3 separate regions of the Homo sapiens genome follow, and all the other regions are linked to region 2. The links are contacts of gene promoters, found by promoter capture Hi-C in human tissues and cell types (Jung and others, 2019). All regions are on one chromosome and are shown on one strand. The core of a region is centred on a gene start or on the middle of the fragment in contact, and the rest is flanking DNA. Distances in the headings are between cores, read along the strand shown.

Evidence for each region. The method cuts DNA at HindIII sites, captures the fragments that hold promoters and counts their contacts. A contact is called where the count stands out against the background at its distance.
Region 1: a contact is called between a fragment that was not itself captured here and the fragment with the promoter of PDCD2L in region 2, in 1 of the 25 tissues and cell types used here (small bowel).
Region 3: a fragment that was not itself captured here is called in contact with the fragment with the promoter of PDCD2L in region 2 in 1 of the 25 tissues and cell types used here (aorta).

Annotation. Positions count from the first base shown.
Region 1 is chr19:34,457,046-34,459,745 of GRCh38, reverse strand. It overlaps UBA2 (ubiquitin like modifier activating enzyme 2), which reads right to left. Exons shown (of 17, transcript NM_005499.3): 13 at 822-977. Among named protein-coding and RNA genes, the nearest start is that of WTIP, 23 kb to the left of the region's middle. The HindIII fragment of the contact is 3,181 bases long and covers 1-2,700 here.
Region 2 is chr19:34,403,063-34,405,762 of GRCh38, reverse strand. It overlaps PDCD2L (programmed cell death 2 like), which reads right to left and starts at 1,364. Exons shown (of 7, transcript NM_032346.2): 1 at 1,225-1,364; 2 at 948-1,114; 3 at 773-833. The coding sequence starts at 1,332. The HindIII fragment of the contact is 14,760 bases long and covers 1-2,700 here.
Region 3 is chr19:34,364,455-34,367,154 of GRCh38, reverse strand. It overlaps GPI (glucose-6-phosphate isomerase), which reads right to left and starts at 1,959. Exons shown (of 18, transcript NM_000175.5): 1 at 1,767-1,959; 2 at 720-810; 3 at 304-372. The coding sequence starts at 1,888. RefSeq lists an enhancer at 145-885. The HindIII fragment of the contact is 6,168 bases long and covers 1-2,700 here.

The DNA of each region.
Region 1 (2,700 bases), core at 148-2,647, 54 kb before region 2:
AGGCATGTAAATATGTAGCATTATGATGGTCACAACCAGAGAACAATAGGAAGTGATCCCAAAGTGGAAAGTGACACTTTTGGGTCATAAAAAAAGAAAATCTCCCCTAATACACAAATCTAGCCAATTTAACAGGAACTTAAGGACCAGACCATGTCCTAAACCCCCATTTCTTCCCTCGCTTCAGCTCCAGAGGTGAATCCAGGTGTGCAAATGCCCTATGTCCTCAGGGACTAACTTACCATATCAGAATCAGGTCATATTAGATAAGTGTGTACCACCACTTAGCCTCAACTCAGACCTCAGAAATAACAAAAGCCCCCTAATTTGCTGGGAGTGGGCACTGTCCAACACGCAGAGAAACCAAAACTCTGCAAGTTACTTATACCCTTTAATACAAAGCTGGTAACTGGGGCTTTGCTCTACTGGAAATGCAAACTTTGCACTGCATGCAAATACTTATCTGCTCACTGCCACAGTGAGGACCATTCAAGGATACCTGTTATTTGTCAAAAAATACAGAATTTACCCACTGCCTGGGAAGCAAAGAGCAAAGAAGTCCTCTGCTTGCTGTGATACTGTGCCACCACTGTGCTGCAGATTCCAGTCAAATACTCCTACTCCATTCTGGGAATGTGAGGCACTTATTCTGGAACCACAGACAGAAAAGCCTGCAGGAATCCAGAAGGCAAAATAACCCAGGAAATCACAGCCACACATCTCTGCAGTTGGACCTTTTCAGAATCAGCAGCTAGTGTTTGTTTGTCATCACAGTAATACTGTAAAAGCAAAAGGAAAAGAGACCCAGGCCTTGCACTGACCTTGTCTTGTAAGGTGAGAACAGTCACTTTATGGACATTCAGCCGCACAGTCACCTCTGGCTTGCTGGCACATACATAACAATTGGGGTTGGGAGGATCCAGTGCACAAGGCACAAGAAGCTTCTTTCTTGGGTTTGGTTGTTTATTCAAAAAAATCTTTGGAGGAGAAATAACAGGCAGAAATCGGAAACGTGCTGTAATTTTATACGCCATACAATCTAAAATCTCGTTTACCAGATATCCAATAAAAAATGACTTAAAAATTCCCGTCCAGATGGCAAAATGGATCAGGAAAATCATGACCTTTTTAGGAACCTGGTTTTTCAACCTTCTTTTTTTTTTTTTTTTTTTTTTTTTTTTTTTTTTGAGACGGAGTCTTGCTGTCGCCCAGGCTGGAGTGCAGTGGCGCAATCTCGGCTCACTGCAGGCTCCGCCCCCTGGGGTTCACGCCATTCTCCTGCCTCAGCCTCCCGAGTAGCTGGGACTACAGGCGCCCGCCACCTCGCCCGGCTAATTTTTTGTATTTTTTTTTTAGTAGAGACGGGGTTTCACCGTGTTAGCCAGGATGGTCTCGATCTCCTGACCTCGTGATCCGCCCGCCTCGGCCTCCCAAAGTGCTGGGATTACAGGCGTGAGCCACCGCGCCCGGCCTCAACCTTCTTTTCTAATCAGCTAAAGGCTAGGCTAGCTAGGCTTGCTGAAAAGACATCTCCTTGTATTATATAAGACTCCGCGTTCTTCTGCAACCTGATTTGGCAAGAGTAAGGGCACAGGCATGTTAATCTGTGGTGCCATCATTGTATCAGCAGCTGGTGTCCCTCCCTGAGGCTATTCTTATCAAGCAAGCAATCTCCTGACAAGACCAACACATTAATTTCTCCAGTTAACGATAGTGCCTTTCACAGTTGTCTAGAATCAACATCACTGCCTTCCCAAATTTTCTGATTAGAATAACATTTATATAATGAGGGAAAAAAATGTATTTCTGGCAGTATATGTACCTATTTACCATTTCTCTAATACTAAACAAAAAAATAATTAAGAACCAAGGCAAATATACAAATTACACTGAAATTAAGAAAAGCTCCAAGCTCCTGCTTCTACTAAAGTTTAGAAAACACTAGCAAGATCCAACAGAAACAACAAATGTCAGAAGACAAGAAGCTGAGACACAAACCTTTATCTTGTGACTACAATGTAGTGTTGAGTCTGCTAAGAGGAATGAATTCTAAAGGAGTACTCTACGGATTCCCCTGAGAATACAGAACTAAATCCCTCAAGAGACACTAAAGCCGTCCTCTGTAAAATAGCTTCTCCGTACAATGAATACTGGTAGGTGGAAGGGCTAGAAGCAAACTGCCCAGGCCAAGCAGGCTACAGAGGGAGAAAGATTTGTTTGATTTTGGGCTTCACCGGGAAGGTAAGTGTGCTAAGGGAAACTGACAATAATAAAAGCAATTGCTACCACTATTAATACCTGGGCTAACATTAATCCAGGCTGGAATTCATTTGCAAATGTAAAAAAATGAAATCCAGATATATTACTATATTTTTTCTTGAGGCAGAGTTTCGCTCTTGTTGCCAGGCTGGAGTGCAATGGCGCGATCTCGGCTTAATGCAACTTCCGCCTCCCAGGTTCAAGTGATTCTCCTGCCTCAGCCTCCTGAGTAGCTGGGATTACAAACATGCACCACCATGCCCAGCTAATTTTATATATATATATATATATATATATATATATATATTTTTTTTTTTTTTAGTAGAGACCAGGTTTCTCCACGTTAGTCAGGCTAGTCTCGAACTTCCAATCTCAGGTGATCTGCCTGCCTCGGCCTCCCAAAGAGCTGGGATTACACGTGTGAGCCATCGTGCCCGGCCA
Region 2 (2,700 bases), core at 115-2,614:
GGCTAATTTTTTGTTTTTGTTTTTAATAGAGACGGGGTTTCGCCATGTTGGCCAGGCTGGTCTCGAACTTCTGACCTCAGGAGATCCGCCCGCCTCGGCCTCCCAAAGTGCTGGGATTACAGGCGTAAGCCACCGCGCCCAGCCTGGTCTCCAACTTCTGAGCTCAAGCAATCCTCCCACTTCAGCCTCTCAAAAAACGGTGGGATCACAGGCGTGAGCCACCATGCTGGGCCTCCATCTCCTTTTAACAAAGGAGTTAGAAAATAAAAATAAAGTAAAATAGAAGAAAAAAAAAACTCTCACAAAACCTTAAGAAAGGCCGGGCGCGGTGGCTCATGCCTGTAATCCCAGCACTTTGGGAGGCCGAGGCGGGTGGATCACCTGAGGTCGGCAGTTCGAGACCAGCCTGACCACCATGGCGAAACCCCGTCTCTATTAAAAATACAAAATTAGCCGGGCGTGGTGGCATATGCCTGTAATCCCAGCTACTAGGGAGGCTGAGGCAGGAGAATCGCTTGAACCTGGGAGGCGGAGGTTGCGGTGAGCCGAGATCGCGCCATTGCACTCCAGCCTGGGCGACAGAGCGAAACTCCGTCTCAAAAAAAAAAAAAAAAAAAAACTTTACGAAAATAGCATTTTATGGTTCTTCAGAAAAGCAAAAAACACTCCAGTGTACTTCAAAGAACACGGCTTTAAAGTCTGCCCCAAACTATTCTCTGGAAAATATCCTCAAATGACAGAAAAACAATAACATGCCAATCACAACCTTTACCTGAGCGTCCTGCGCCTCTCTCTCTGGCACCTGCAGGCACTGGGAGCGGAACACCTTCCAGCTTCGGGGTGAAGACAAAGGGCCGTGAGGGCTGCACCCCGACTCCAGCCCGCCGGCCCGCCCCAGCCCGCTGGAAAGGACACCCCTGGAGCAGCTCTGGGACTTCCCCGCCTACCTGCGCGCACCGCCGGTGCTACAGCCGGGGCAGGCGCACGCGAACACGTGCAGCAGACGGTGAAACGGGGAGCCTTCCAGCGGGCAATACACCTGCACGACCAGAGCGAGCGGCTGCCCGCAGCGCTGACACACGGGCCTGGGCGCAGCCACGGTGGGCAGAGCATCCTGAGGGGACAGAGGAGGCGCTCAGACCCCGACTCCCCCCAGGACCTCGCCCACTCCCTCCGCACCCTTCAGCAGCACCCATCGACCCCAGCTCCGGCACCCGCCCTCACCGGAATGCCGCCCAGCTTGCTAGCAGTCCAGGCACCCGGCCCTGTGGGGCTGCCGTGCACCGGCGCATCTCGAAGGCCCAGCAGCACCGGCTTCAGAACGGCCGCCATGGCCGCCGGGCGACCAGGTGAAAACGCAAACTACGGCGGCCTCTCTGCGCACGCGCAACGCTACGCTAAAATGATAACCCCGCTCCCTTACTAGGATCCGATGCGGAGGCGTGGCTTTAAGGCGCGTGCGCTCAGGTCCCAGAGCCACAGAGGCGCCGCTGGCGTCAGGGGCTCGAAATCCCGGAGTCCCAGGCATTATGTGCCCCTTAATGCGCTGTGATAGGAAGTACACACCATCTACTAGGAAGTAGTTTTGCCAAAAAGCTAACTTTCTTTTTTCCTTTTTTTCCTGAGACGAGGACTTGCTATATTGCCCACACTGGTCTTGAACTCCTGGGGTTCAAGCGATCCTCCCGCCTCCGCCTCCCAAAGTGTTGCGATTACAGGTGTGAGCCACCAGAAAAAAGCCTTCCCGGAAAATAAAAATTTTAGGTGGGATAATGGTATTATCAGTCATTAACAAGAACAATAAAGTTTTTTAAAAAGTTAAAGTTTTTAATTTTTAGAGAAACACACCAAAATGCTTATAGATGAAATACCTCCGATTTGCTACTACATAATTAAGGTGGTGGGGTGTAAATACAGTAAGATTGACCATGAGTTGATAATTGTTGAAATTTGGTGCCAGGCACATGGAGATTTATTCTATTTGGGTTTTATATGTTTGAGATTTTTCAGTTTTTATTTTTGTTTTGTTTTGTTTTGTTTTTGAGACAGAGTCTTGCTGGGTCGCCCAGGCTGAAGTGCAGTGGCGCCATCTCACTGCATCTCAGCCTCCCAGGTTCAAGTGATTCTCCTGCCTCAGCCCCACCCAGTAGCTGGGGTTACAGACGCCCACCACCACGCCCGGCGCCCGGCTTTTTTTTTTTTTTTTTTTTTAGACGGAGTTTCGCTCTTGTCGCCCAGGCTGGAGTGCACTGGCGTGATCCCAGCTCACTGCAACCTCTGCCTCCCAGGTTCAAGCGATTCTTCTGCCTTAGCCTCCCGAGTAGCTGAGATTACAGGCATGTGCCACCATGCCTGGCTAATTTTGTATTTTTAATAGAGATGGGGTTTCTCCATGTTGGTCAGGCTGGTCTCGAACTCCCAACCTCAGGTGATCCGCCCACCTTGGCCTCCCAAAGTGCTGGGATTACAGGCGTGAGCCACCATGCCCGGCCTTTTTTGTATTTTTAGTAGAGACGGGGTTTCACCATGTTGGCCAGGCTGGTTTCGAGCTCCTGAAATCAAGTGATCTGCCCACCTCGGCCTCCCAAAGTGTTAGTATTACAGGTGTGAGCCACCGCGCCCAGCCACACAATACAGTTTTTTCAATTCCTGCAGCACAACATGGGTGAATTTCAAAAGCATCATGGGAAGAAGCCAGAC
Region 3 (2,700 bases), core at 64-2,563, 39 kb after region 2:
AGGATATATTAGAGTTAACTTCTCCAAGAAAATGTCAGCCTTGAGAAACTCTCCCTGTGGGTATGAGATATGCTCCTCCCAGGCAGACACTGGGAACCATTCCAAGGAGCTCACCAAACCAATCTTGTGGAAGGCACACCCCAAAGCCCTGCTACAAGCAGGAGGAAAAAGGCCTTCAGGCCCCTCATTAAGCAAAAGCATTGCCCAAGAGAAGGGGTGAAGACACAGGGTGATGCGGCTAACAGTCAGATAAACCCCAAAGGGAAGGAAGGAGGCCCCAGAGGGTATGTGGGGCCTGCTCACCTCGGTGTAGTTGATCTTCTCACCATTGAACATCCGCTCCCGGGCGGCCTCCACGCCCCTGGACTTGGCCTAGGAAGAGACGATACTGAGGCCTGGTCCCACCCACACTGGCCACCCCAAGTGTCAGCCCCCAAACACAAGGCTTGGTGCTGTCCCCAATGAGACAGACAGACGGCTGCTGTCTGGTTCCCTCCCCTGCTGTCTGGGAAGGGTCTACTCAGACATCAGACACTGGGGTCCCTGGGATGCTGCTTAGAACCTAAGCCAGGGACAGGTGCCTCACCAGCACAGAGGAGGTGACTGAGGTCTAATGAGAGGAAGAACTCAAGATACTCAAGGTCCTGGGGACTCCCAGGAGCCCAGCTCACCCACCACTCTGTCGGTTACCAGTTATGCCTCCCCAAGCAGAACATTACCAAGTCCACCAGCATCCGCATCACGTCCTCCGTCACCAGGTTCTTGGAGTAATCCACCAGGATATGCCCATGGTTGGTGTTGAGGGTCAAGCTGCAGAAAGATGGAGATGCTGCTGACCACACCCTGGTCTCCCTAGCGGGGAGCCATGCCCTAAGCAGGAGCTGTTCCCAGAAGAAACATCCTCCCTGACCCACGCCCCACAAGGGCCGCGGCCACCCAGCACAGTGGTGGTGTCTGTCACCTGCTGGCCCACCAGGATGATCTGCAACAGCAGCCCAGAGAAAGAAGCCATCCTCACAGACCGTAGATGCAGGCAGACCCTGGATGAGGAGCCCGGACTGAAGTGGGGGACCACCCCTTCCCAGGGCTTCCACTTTCTGCCGTAAGTTACTCAGGCACCCATCCAGATGACAGGGATGGCCATCGGGACGTCTAGCCCGGAGCCACAGTCGCTCCCCTCCCCCGCCTCCACCAGTATCAGTGATCAGAGCTCCCTTGGCCGCACTCCCGCCCATGATTTGCTCAAACACTCCTTCCCACTTCCCGGTCGTGCACAGGTGTCTTCTGCAGGAATCACGCCCGACGTCTCCATCCTTCCACCCAGCTCCCTCAAACACCCCCGCCCGGGCTGCCCGCCCTGCAGACGCTCCCAAGCTCATGTGGCCAGGAGCGGATGGAAAGGGACAGCCCTTTCCCGCTTGCTGCGTCAGCCAAGGCCTCTCTTCACAACTGCGAAAGGAGCCCCTGCTCAAATGGCCAGAGCTGCACGGGGAGGAGGAGGGGAAATGTCCCCACGGAGGGGCCCGTTTTTCCTCGTAACGAAGCAGACCCGGGGCCGAGACTCCCGGCGAGGCTGCAAGCCCCCAGGAACGCACTCCAAGGAGACTCCAAGGACGAAGTGCGGACTCGGCCTGGGCCCCAGTCCGTGGCCTGGAGGTCGGGGACTGGGGTCCCCGGGCACCGCTGCCCCCGCCTCCAGACCCCAGGCCCGCGTGCCCGGTTCCGGGCGCCGCGCGTGGCAGCCCCCGCCTCCGGCCCGCCCGCACCTGAAGTGGTTGAAGCGGTCCTTGTTGGCATCGAAGAGGCGGCGCAGGTTCAGCTCGGAGCGGTGCTCGCGGTACCATTGCTGCAGCTTCTGGAACTGGGGGTCCCGGGTGAGAGCGGCCATGGCGGGACTAGAAGGTACACTGAGTGAGACGCGAGCCGAGGAGGAAGGAGCGCCGGCAGCGCGCAGCAAGCGAGGCGCGTGGGCGCGCGGCGGCCTTTATGGCGCAGGCGCCCGGCCCGGCCCGGCCCGGCCCCACCCCTGAGCCCCGGCCCCGCCCCCGACCCGCGCCCCGATACCCAGGCCGGGTGCCCGCTGAGCGACCTTGCCCGCGGCCGCTGATCTGGGGCCTCAGCTCCTCTCTCCCTACCTCTTGCGCCGCCGCTTTGCTGGCCTCTGCCCGGAAGTGGCAGTGGGGAGGGTGGGCAGAGCCCGGGGATCACTGGAGCCCAGGTGTTGGAGGCTGCAGAGAGCTACCATCGCGCCGCTGCACTCCCTGTGCACTAGTCGGCTTCATTCATTCATTCGACAAAACTCTATAGATCGAACACCTTCCACGTTACAGGCAGTGTTCTAGGCGCTGTGGATACATATGTGCCAAATAAGCAAGTACAACAGATGATGTGTGTCTGCTGGTGGTAAGGGCTATTGAGGAAAACCAAGATGAAAAGGGTGCTGAGAATCGGGGTTGCAATTAAGAAAAAAGTGACTAGGCCGGGCGCGGTGGCTCACGCCTGTAATCTCATCACTTTGGGAGGCCGAGGCAGGCGGATCATGTGAGGCCAGGAGTTCCAGACCAGACTGGCCAACCTGGTGAAACCTCATCTCTACTGAAAAAAAAAATGCAAAAATTAGCCGGGCCTGGTGACACGTGCCTGTATTCCCAGCTAACTCGGGAGGCTGAGGCAGGATAATCACTTGAACCTGGGAGGTGA